Linked DNA regions of Homo sapiens: regions 1 and 3 are each linked to region 2. Evidence: promoter capture Hi-C in 16 types of primary human blood cells and fetal thymus (Javierre and others, 2016). All regions are on one chromosome and are shown on one strand. The core of a region is centred on a gene start or on the middle of the fragment in contact, and the rest is flanking DNA. Distances in the headings are between cores, read along the strand shown.

Evidence for each region. The method cuts DNA at HindIII sites, captures the fragments that hold promoters and counts their contacts. A CHiCAGO score of 5 or more calls a contact.
Region 1: a fragment that was not itself captured here is called in contact with the fragment with the promoter of GLIPR1L2 in region 2 in 6 of 17 cell types (neutrophils, naive B cells, non-activated CD4 T cells and 3 more); the score reaches 7.4 in neutrophils.
Region 3: a fragment that was not itself captured here is called in contact with the fragment with the promoter of GLIPR1L2 in region 2 in 8 of 17 cell types (naive B cells, total B cells, naive CD8 T cells and 5 more); the score reaches 11.4 in naive B cells.

The regions. Positions count from the first base shown.
Region 1 is chr12:75,492,890-75,496,783 of GRCh38, forward strand. GLIPR1 (GLI pathogenesis related 1) reads left to right here. Exons shown (of 6, transcript NM_006851.3): 4 at 2,688-2,773. It overlaps KRR1 (KRR1 small subunit processome component), which reads right to left. Exons shown (of 10, transcript NM_007043.7): 10 at 1-3,894. Among named protein-coding and RNA genes, the nearest start is that of GLIPR1-AS1, 5.0 kb to the left of the region's middle. The HindIII fragment of the contact is 4,702 bases long and covers 60-3,894 here.
Region 2 is chr12:75,389,505-75,392,921 of GRCh38, forward strand. It overlaps GLIPR1L2 (GLIPR1 like 2), which reads left to right and starts at 1,585. Exons shown (of 6, transcript NM_001270396.2): 1 at 1,585-1,846. The coding sequence starts at 1,613. It also overlaps a transcript of CAPS2 not described here. RefSeq lists a silencer at 1,387-1,559 and an enhancer at 1,517-1,646. The HindIII fragment of the contact is 6,589 bases long and covers 1-2,611 here.
Region 3 is chr12:75,471,388-75,475,203 of GRCh38, forward strand. No RefSeq gene overlaps it. Among named protein-coding and RNA genes, the nearest start is that of GLIPR1, 7.5 kb to the right of the region's middle. The HindIII fragment of the contact is 193 bases long and covers 2,227-2,419 here.

The DNA of each region.
Region 1 (3,894 bases), core at 1,161-3,660, 100 kb after region 2:
ATCAATAGGCAAGGCCCCTGTTTAGAATAATCAGGGAAGGGCTTCTTGTGTTATATTTAAGCTTAGGCATGAAGAATGAGAAGGAATCAGACATAAGAACTTCTGGAACAGCTGTCTAGTGGAGAAAAGAACAGCAAAACTTCCGTGAAGAAAAGTTTGGCAAGTTTAAACCACAGAGACTGGTGCCCTCGGTCTGCTAAACAGATGAAACGGGGGGAGGAAGGCAGTTGCAGATCTAGCGGGAACTTTTAGATCATGACAAAGTTTACATAAGAAGTCATTCAAGTATATTAAGCAGGGGAGCGATGAGACCTTTAAATTTGGACATCAGTCTGGATGGAAAATGGATTAGAGGAGCATAAAAGGTAAAACAGAGAGACCAGTTAGGAATGTCCTCATTTCCCTTTGCCCTCTGCCCTCTGAGGTATTATTTTCCTATACACAAAAAGTTGTAGGCCCCCATTCCACATAATCTTAGGAAGTCCAGTATCCTCCTCAATATTTCTGATACCTCAGAATGGGGTCTGGGATGCTTAATCTTCCAGTTGCCTGTAATACTCTCCTCTTCATTTCCCCTGGGCACCATGAACAAGGGTATGGTGTGTAACAGATCTTTACTCAGAGTGGATTAGTGGAGGAGAGGATTATAGCACAGAAGAGGAAATAACTTTGACCACAAGATAGTCAAGATAGTACCAGTGTGCTTAGGCCGTCACTGCCTTAGGGACCCTTACCCATATTTATCTTTTTCTTTAAAGATTTGTCTTCGGTCTTCCCCTGGGTCCCATAACCCCAACCCTCTTCTCTCTCAGGCTACCAGGGAAAACATTGAAATGTCCTGTTGCTTTATTGTGCTGAATACTTTAGGTCCCACAGTCTTAATGACTCCCATCTAGACAAATCCAGGCCTTTCCAGTAGCATGTTTCTCCCAAGATGAATACTACCATTTCCACAGACCTCACCGACTGTCTTGGTTTTTAGCTTATTTTTAAGTAGCATTTTTTACCTTTTCCTTTACAGTTTGGAATGCACAACTAAGTATCATAAATGACTTTATTAAAATCATTCTAGAACTTAAACCACTTAATACTGTGCTTATTAACAATGAAAGACATTCCAATGATTAATGTCTATTTTGGACATCTTTTGAAATTGCTATCAGAATTTCTACTATATTACCTTTTTTCCATGGTGTAGAGTAAGCAGAGGGCTAATTAAATTTCTGAAGCAACTTAAAATTTGGAGCAAAATGAGATAAGAACATAGATTTGGGGTTGGAAATAAGGTATCGTTATAAAGTTGTGTGTCTAAGGTGAGAGTTCTCAACTTTGGAGGTAATTGTAGAGTGCTGGGGAGAGGAGGACCATAAACTTTGATTAGAAAATAGTTTTATTTTTATTTTCACTAACCTCTATTAAAAATAACATTTCCTTTCATTATGAATGAAGACAACACTCCACCATCATATTAGCAATAAACGTGACTCTGACTTAGCAGTATCATCTTTGTAAATATCAGATATTTTCATACCACATTCCACTTGCTGCAGAGAACTCAAAATATAGTTTGTGTTCATCACTGCATTGAAACTAATAGCCCCCGGTAGATCTTAATAGAGAAGCACATATTACTTTATCACAAATCTTGTTTTAAACATTTTGATAACTATTTCAATTTAATTGGTTTCCTTTATAATCCTATGTATTTTATGCATTTAACAACAAACTATGTTGAGAAAGAGCCCATAGGCCTCACCAGACTGCCAAAGGGTACGATTACACAAAAAAGTTTAGAACTTTTTCCAAAAGCAGAGTTCCAAAAAAAATTAGTGCAATGGCAGGTTCATTGAGATAAATGTGCCCCCTCTCCCCATTACTACTATGAGGATATTTATGGGGATATAAAATGCTTGGATATTATTTCACTTTCTAGTCTGTGACCTTGGTCAATTACTTATACTCTGTGACTCAGCCTCTAGCTATATAATGGGTATAAATAGACAACAGTAACTTCCTCATAGGGTTTTTGTGAAGATTATTTCATTCAAGGTTGTTTAGAACAAAGACAAGCACATGGTAGTGCTCACTAATTAGCAGCTATTATTCATATCACATCTTGTATGTGAAAACAATTTGTACTTTAGAAATTCCCCCATACCATTATTTATTATTTTTTTGGAAGGCACCAGCCAAATGGCTCCTATCCAGTGAAAATTATGGAGGGCTGACCAACTGAGAATATTGAATGTGGGTCACCATAGCTTTTCTAAGATGGACAGTTTTTTAAATGGCAGTAATCATATAGGCCAGAGGGTAGGTAAAGAGAGGGAGCACAGCCCTGGAGTTAAATCCAGGTTTCCTCTGACTCTGAAGTGTATAAATTGTGATTAAAGGTATCTCTTACATCTTTTGTCTCATCTGTAAAACAAGAATAACTTCCTCTCAGAGCTGTCACAATTAAATGGGATGCAGATTAAAACAGGTGCATAGACACAGGTACATAGAATGAACTATGCAAATATTAGCAGCCTTCCATTTCTGCCTTCCTGTCTTCACTTCTATTACCAACTCTCTGGACCTTTGTACTTCACTCCACTATTCTTCTGGATTTAGTTAAGGATTCATAGTAAATTGCAATTTTAAAAAACCGAAAAACTTCTAATGGACATCCTTCTTCTGCTTTACAGAGGGAATTACCCAACTTGGCCATATAAGAGAGGAGCCACCTGCAGTGCCTGCCCCAATAATGACAAGTGTTTGGACAATCTCTGTGGTGAGTAAAAGGAACAATACACCAATAGAATAACATAATAGTAACATGTAACTTTCTACAGAATTAACAATGAAACCATGTTTTATCTTAACGGCTATCTTCAAGGAAACTGGCATCAAGTAGCAATTAAACCAATGGCTTACTGTTCTAGGAATACATTTAAGAGAAATTTAAATGTGAAAATCACGTTCTTTTTATTTAGTTCTAATTGGTCAAACAACAACAACAAAAAAAACTGTCAGAAACTGTAGACTAAGATTCCTAAGATTTGCTTATTTCAGCAAGATCAAAAATAAGTATAACAGGTCATCCAAACAAACAGAATTCTGTTTTCGTTTTTTTTTTTGTTTTTTTTTTTTGAGACAGAGTCTTGCTCTGTCACCCATGCTAGAGTGCAGTGGTGTGATCTCAGCTCACTGCAACCTCCATCTCACGGGTTCAGGCGATCCTCCTGCCTCAGCCTCCCAAGTAGCTGAGATTACCATGCCACCATGCCCAGCCTGGCCAACATGGCAAAAACCCCCTCTACTAAAAATACAAAAACTAGCTGGGTGTGGTGGTGGACGCCCGTAACCCCAGCTACTCAGGAGGCTGAGGCAGGACAATCACTTGAGCCCAGGAGGTGGAGGTTGCAGTGAGCAGAGATTGTACCACTGCACTCCAGCCTGGGTGACACAGTGAGGGTCTATCTCCAAAAAATGAAAATAAAATAAAGCTGCAACATGGCACTTTTTATTAGCCAGACAGCATTTAATGAAGAAGTGTAGAAGCTGCAAGCAGTTAAATTTCCAAGGATGTTTTACTAAACATCCAAGCAAAATTCTGCTTTGTGATTTTGAAATATTAGTAAGTGACCAAGAGTTTATTTCTTGTTCTTGTTCTAGACACAAACCCTTCCATCCCAGTATGTTTTTTTACCATGGTGTGAAGGGGAAACTTCAATTAAGCTGTGCAAAGCCTGTGGTACTTTCGTGTCCATATTTGTAACAAACTGAACTCAGAGCAGCCGGGCTAGAGTAGGGTGCTTAGAATAGAGGAAGGACAGAGTCGGCCAAGTTCCACTGCACGAAATTTAGTTTGGAAAAAAGTGTTCCATTGCTCATGTTTTATAAGGTCCCTTG
Region 2 (3,417 bases), core at 335-2,834:
AAGATTGCATTATTCTATTTATACTTTTTCTTTAGCATTTTTTGCAGTCTAACAACAGTACCACCATAATAAAAGAATTGCATCTTTCAGCACTTGCCACCTTCACCCTTAAATAGGTTCTAGCCATACTAAAATACTTCTAGCGTTTAGGATCTTCCTCTCCTTAGGCACATTACATGCTTTTCCCTTTGTTTAGAATGCTATCTTAGACTTGTCTGTTTCACTTTCTGTATACAATTTCCAGAAAGGCTTCCCTGCTCCTCCACAAGAGTACCAAGCAATAGAATTTTGGCTTTGTATTTATCACGTTTTAAATACTGCCTGATTGCTAATTCACTAAATTGTAAGCTGCTTGAAAGCTGGATCTGTGTCTTGTCTACTGATCTTTCTCAATCACTTAAAACTTACTACTATGCAGTCATAGTAGTAAGTATTCAAGGGCATAAATGAAACCATCTTACATAGGTCTATTGTTTTTCAATTGTGTGCATCACAGACAATTTTTAAAAGCACTTTTCTTTTTATAAATGTTTGGCTAACCTGTTACAATGTTTTGTAGTAAAATTCTCTCCCAATGTCAATTTTCCATATCTGCTTAATGCTATTAAGCACAATATGTAATATGCAAACGTGTATTCCAAAACTAATACTTGCTTTTTTTCCATGCTTAGAATTTAAAGTCTTCAAAGCAAGTTGGTTTTGTTTTGTTTTGTTTTTGAGGAAAATGTTTGGAGGTAAACAGATCAGACCAAAATCAGCTAGATATTAGCCAATTTTGTCTGGAACAAAAAAAGAAAACAAAAGAGTTCGTTCTTACTGTGAATGCCACAATTAGTGAAAAAGATGAATCTTGATATTCCGGGCTGTCTGAATTGTGCTGATGAGAGAAGAAGTAGAAATGTTTTAACCTTTGAAGAGTTTGGTGATCCCTACTCTCCCTTCACTCCCATTTATTTTGTGGTTTCCCACAAAGGTTCATTTAAAAACTGAAAAAAATCTCATCAATTAAGTTGGCCTTAAGAACTTCTTTGGCCTTAAGAACTAGCAATATTTCTGTATTCCATTCTGTCCCTGAGGAAAATAAAAGGCAGGCCCTGCACCAAATTTCCAACTCAACAGGTAATGGGGAAAAAAAATTTAATTGAATTTGTATCTGTATCGCAGAAAAATCATTTCACCTGGCACAATTAGAAGGTTCCTCAGACCTGTTACTCAGCAATTGGCATTTACCATACAAACTGATGACTCATTAATAACGACATATCATTCAGTGTCAGAAATCAATTCGGGATAACATTTCACTACATTAGTTTAGTGAAAAGGGCTTACTCACGTAACACAAGTCTTTCTTTAGTTTGTCAGACATCTATTACCAGCTTTCTTCACTCTGCAGGTCTAGCTTTCCCCTCCTCTCCCCCTCCCCTACCCACTCTCCCCTCCCTCTTCTCTCCTCCCTCCTCCTTACCCCCTCCTCCCTCCTTTGTTTTTCCCTCCTCCCTCCTCCCTTTCTCCTTCCGGGAGGCGGGACAAGGCTTGCTTGCGTCCTCCGTAGATTGGCAGGTCACTGGGACGGCCAGCGCGTGCGCACTGGCCTGTCAGCGGCCGGTGGACCATGGAGGCCGCAAGGCCCTTCGCCCGGGAGTGGAGGGCCCAGTCCCTACCCCTGGCAGTAGGGGGCGTTTTGAAGCTGCGGCTCTGTGAGCTGTGGCTACTGCTACTGGGTTCTAGTTTGAACGCCAGATTTTTGCCAGACGAGGAGGACGTAGACTTTATCAACGAGTACGTGAACCTCCACAATGAGCTGCGGGGCGACGTCATTCCCCGAGGGTCTAACTTGCGCTTCATGGTGAGGCCGGAAGGCGGTTTGCCGACCCTTCCACTACCGTTGCCACAACGCCTCCCTGGATCTCGGGTAGTTGGGGCCACTGCTCTGAGGCTGAAGGATCGCGGAGAACCGCACTTTTAGCTTGGTTTTTAAAGTACACGTGAAGTTTACACAGAGAAAAACTGCGGACACTCTAACACATGCTTATTACCATGATATTACACAGGGCCAGGACTAAGGTGATGGAGGCACTGGCCTGAAGTGCAGATTTTAAGGGGGCGCCAATTCAAGAAAATGATATTTTAATGCAACGGGTTTTTAAAAATTAAAAATCAGTGCAAAAATATCAATATCAAGGGTAAAGAAAATGTTAAAAAATTTAACAAAGACAGGTTCCTTGGGTCTGGATTAGGGAAAAACAAGTGCGACACTCTCAGGGTGGTGCAAATCAAGATGAGATTCTGTTTGTATTTGAAATTTTTATTTTTAGCTTTTTCCATCATCGATGTCACATTAGCTTTGCCTTTTAAAAATGTTTGTTATCTTGATTTTTTTTTTTTGTGCCCATTCCAAATTTGGCTCCTAAGGAAGTGTCTCAGTTTCCTCACCCTAGTCTTGACCCTGATTTTGCCTTACCTTACAATGCGGTTCTTGCTTTCCCCCTCTTTTACACCCTATAGTCATTTAACAACTCAACTATTCCCTGGTTGCTATTGAGTTTTCCTGACTGTCATTAAAATGACTGAAAATCCGGCAAATAAATAACTGTCCTCTTAGGGAATTAGAAGCTTCAAACTTATAAATTATATTGCAAGGACTACTTTCCTAGACATGTCTTTTCTTCCTTCAGCATTAGTTCTTAGCACAAATTTCAGAAATGGGATAAATAAATTAAGGGTATGATATTTTTTATTAATTTAACACATAGCAATTGCTATGCTAAAGGGTAGTGCCAAATTTAGCAAATACCAGCTGTTCTGTTTTCACCACATCCTCACTGATTTGGACATGTTCAATTACTTGCTAAATGAATAAATTACAAAAATGGTCATTTGTTTTAATGTTGATTTTAAAATACTATTTTGATAGGACATACTTGAGTTCTTTCTTCGTCATTTCCTTTACCTTTTATATTGTCAGCATTTCCATGTCAGATTATATGCTGTCTTATAGAACTATGCTAGCATTTGGTTCTATCTGCTGAAGATACTTTTTTCTAAGCCAATTCTTTTTCTTTTGAATTCAATTATAGAGTTTGGGGATATTTGGGAGTTTCAACTAATTTCCCATTTTTTGTGACTAATTCTGTTTCTTCCCAATTTGAAGATTATCCTTACTCCTGAAAATTAATAAACACATAATACTTTCTAATACAACTTTTCATAGGTTTTCTATCTCATCTCTAAAAATTATATAGTATTTCAAACATAAGGTATATAAAATAATATACCTGTATACCCACAATCGATATTTTTAAATATAGACATTTTTAAAGGAATAGTATTTGATATATAGGTTAAAGTCCCACCCTAAATTTTTACCTTTTTCTTCTTTCTTGAAGTTAATGTATATTTTTCCCATGTATTTTATTA
Region 3 (3,816 bases), core at 1,073-3,572, 83 kb after region 2:
CTCAAATGTTACTGAGGGAATGCTGTGTAGCAATGTCAGCATTGGAAAACTGGGAGCTATTTGGTCCCAACATCCCAAGATACAGTGAATGAGAGTGAATGAATGCCTTTAGCCAAGCGCTTTACCAGGGATAGGACGTCAAAAGGGCAAAGAGAAGCAGCATGGCACAAAATAGTGGTTCTCAAACTTTGACTGTGTCCCAAAAACACTGGGGAGAGCCGATTAAAAGCACCGATTGGTTGTTATGGTGTGGACATTCAAATGCATGTCAAGAGAGCCATTGTTATAAAGAAGAGAGACCGCCTGGGGTTTTTTTTTTTTTCTTGCTAGGGTATGCAATTTCTTTCTTTTTTTTTCAATTATACTTTAAGTTTTAGGGTACATGTGCACAACGTGCAGGTTAGTTACATATGTATACATGCGCCATGTTGGTGCGCTGCACCCATTAACTTGTCATTTAACATTAGGTATATCTCCTGGGTTTAATTCACTTCTTTCACTCACTAACAGTGTAAACTTGAGCAAATTACTTAACTCTGACTCTCAGCTTCCTCATCAAACATGTAGCTATATAATACATACATTTCAGGATCATAACGAAGTAAACTTGAACTGAGAACATGCCAGACTATAGTGTGCCATGAAAAGTATCAGGCCGATGGTCACGGGACACAGTGAACTGGCAGAAGATAGCTACTCTCTGTAAGTGGAATAGTCTAGTATGTAACTATTAGGCTTCCCCAATCTTGGGCAGGGTCGAAGCTATAGGGCAGAAGATGAAGGCTCATTGCTATATATCTATGCTAAAGAAAGTTTTAAAAAATATTTAAAGACAAGTATAACAATGTTTAAGAGTTTAGAAGTTCATGTTACTCAATTCTCATCTTAATATTATCTTTAAATCCATATTTTTAAAAGTGACTTCTCTGTTTAAGTATGAGCAGCACAGATTCCAGCAGTGCTTATAAATTAGGTGTGGTGGCTCACTCTCTTTTTATATCACATCAGTTAAAGAAAAAAGCAGAAGTTCCACAGCAGCTTCCTCTTTGAAGAAACTGCCTCAAGGGCAGCTAAAGTAAGGAAGTGATAAAGTAAAATCTAGCATGCAAAGGGAGAGAAAATATAAGTACTTAAATATATGAATTAACAACATGCCTTCTTTGACCAGACTTCAGTCAGGCTCCTCTAAGCCCTCTTCTCAACTGGGGCTTGATCTTGGCCCTCATCATTCCCAGACCTGCATAGCCTGGTTTTAGCAAGAATCCTGTTAAGTCAATTTAGAGGAAATATTTCCCATTCTTTTCTGATCATCCTGGCCTGACCGCAGCAAGAACCCTGTTAGATGAGTTTAACAAGAATCCCCTCATCCTTGATGTCTCTTCTTAGTGATTTTTCCATCCAGACTCTGCTCCTTGGCTATAAATCCCCAAGTGTCTTTATCGTACTCAGAATTGAGCCCAATTCTATACTAAGGCCTTTTTTTCCTTTTTGCAATTTTTTAAAATAAAATATATCTTTACCACTTTAGTGTCTGGCTCTGGTTCTCTTTAATAATATGTACAACCAGATACATGTATACATATAGTTCCAATGTTTAATATATGGTCTCAGTGCCCATATGCTGATGATGAAAGTATAAATTAGTACAAGTTCCAAGAGAGTAACTGGATACTCTACATTTGAAATCTTTAAAACACTCATATCCTATTCACTTATTCTAATTCTAGGAATCAATCTTACTAAATATAGAATATATAAAGATATCCACAGCATTATTAAAATAAGGAATAATTGAAACAGATCTGAATATTCAACAATAATGTGTTATGTAAATTATGCATTCATTTGCAAAAACATTGTATAGTCCTTAAAATGTTTATGAAAGATTATAATAACCAAAAACATGCTTATGAAATAATAAATACAAAAAGCAAGATACAGGATTGCATGAAATTATGCCCTCGATTAACAAACAAAATTTCTATGTGTGTATTATATATTTCAAATATATATATGAGAATATGTATAAAAGATTGATAGAGGCACATGAAAATGTTGAGAGGGAGTCTTCTGAGATGTATTGATAATTTTTGTTTCCTTTATCCCCAAAAAGTCAGGATTCTTAGTTGCAAAGAAAAGAAGCCACTAAAGTGGAAATGATATTTATTAAAAGCAATTAGGTAGCTGACAGAATGATTAAGGCGGCTGAGAACAGTCTCTAGGCTAAGCTTCCTAGGGCAATGCCCACCAAGTCTGCTGTAAAGAAAATCATCACTGTTGCTGCTATTGAGTAATAAATGTCAGCAACAGAACTTTTCTAAAACTTCTGGCTACCTGCTCTTCTAGAAAACTACCACCTCTTAAACTACTACCCCCAAAAGCTGTACATGTCTGTTGTCAACTATCTGTCAAAAATAGAAGCTTCATGCAGAGGCTGTTTCTTCATGTTGCTCATCTCCAGATCAAAGTCTTAGAGAGCTCCGAGCAGAGGAGTGACATAGCTGACTTATATTGTAAGAGGATAATTCTGACTGCCAGAGGAGCATATATGTAAAGGGCAAGGAAGGAAGCAAGGATAGTACTTAGAAGCTATTGTAATAATCCAGGCAAGAAGTAAAGCCAGGTTGGTAGAAGGTGGAGCGATGAGAAATAGTCGAATTCTGGATACATTTCAAAGATAGACATAATAGGATTTGCTAATTGCCTACATTTGAGGAGTGAGAGAAAGAAAATGCAGGAATAATCCCAAGATTTAGACTTGAGAATTTGGAAGATATTTTGATGACAATGTACTGAGATGAGGAAGACCTTGGGGCAGACGTGACAGGTAGCAGTTGAGTGCATGAGGTGAGCTCAAGGCTGGAAATAGAAATATGGAAAATGCCTTGCATAATAGCTGGCAACTAGTGGGATAGTGGGCAGGGATTTCCTGTTGGGTACAATTTTGGGCATATCTGGGCTTGCCTAATCAAAGTCCTATTTTCATGTAAATGAAGGAGCCTCCTAGGAAGAAAGTTGTGCTGAAATTGACCCAATAGAAAATTCTTTAGCCCTTGACAGAGAAGGAAGATTCTGAACAGCATGGATACCATCACTCGAATTTATCTCCTAACCCAAATTCTGTAGATAGGCAATCAGGGAAGATGTAAGTAAAAACTAAAGGGCGTCTGAGCATGTAGCACTGCCTTGGGGCTGACCCTATGGACTGACTTCTTGAGGCACCCCTAATAGAAACCCATGGAACCGTGGCCACACAAGAGATAAGTGTCTGGAAAAGTAGCATAAGCTCTTGGTGGAAATGGACTTCTTCACCAGTTAATGTAAAAGAAACCCTCAGACAACCTTTTGTGGGTGATTTTACAAGGTGTTGAGGTCCTATGTTAGGCAGTTGTAGGCAAAATCAGTGAGGTATGTATTACTATCCTAATCTGACACAGTTGGCTCCATTTGGGGAAGAAAGATCTGGTTGTAGTATATATTATCACTAATGAAAGGGATTGAGAAAAGAAAAGTAGTAAGAGTATAAAAGAATAGATTATTTCTGCTCTTACATCTGAGAAATTGAAAGGAAATATCACATAGCAGAATCCTTGGCAACCAGAAGAATTCAATGTAGCTATAGTTATGCTTGAATATACAAATATAATTAACCTAGTCCTGAGAACTGCATATAACCCAAAATCATCCAAGCTAGGCAAAAGATGTTAAAGTAAAAAATTAATTTTACAAAGCTATATATTTTTAAAAGGCAATTATTTTTGAAAATGATCCTTTGTTGGGTAGAGAAAGGGAATACATAATAAAGCTAAAAATGTC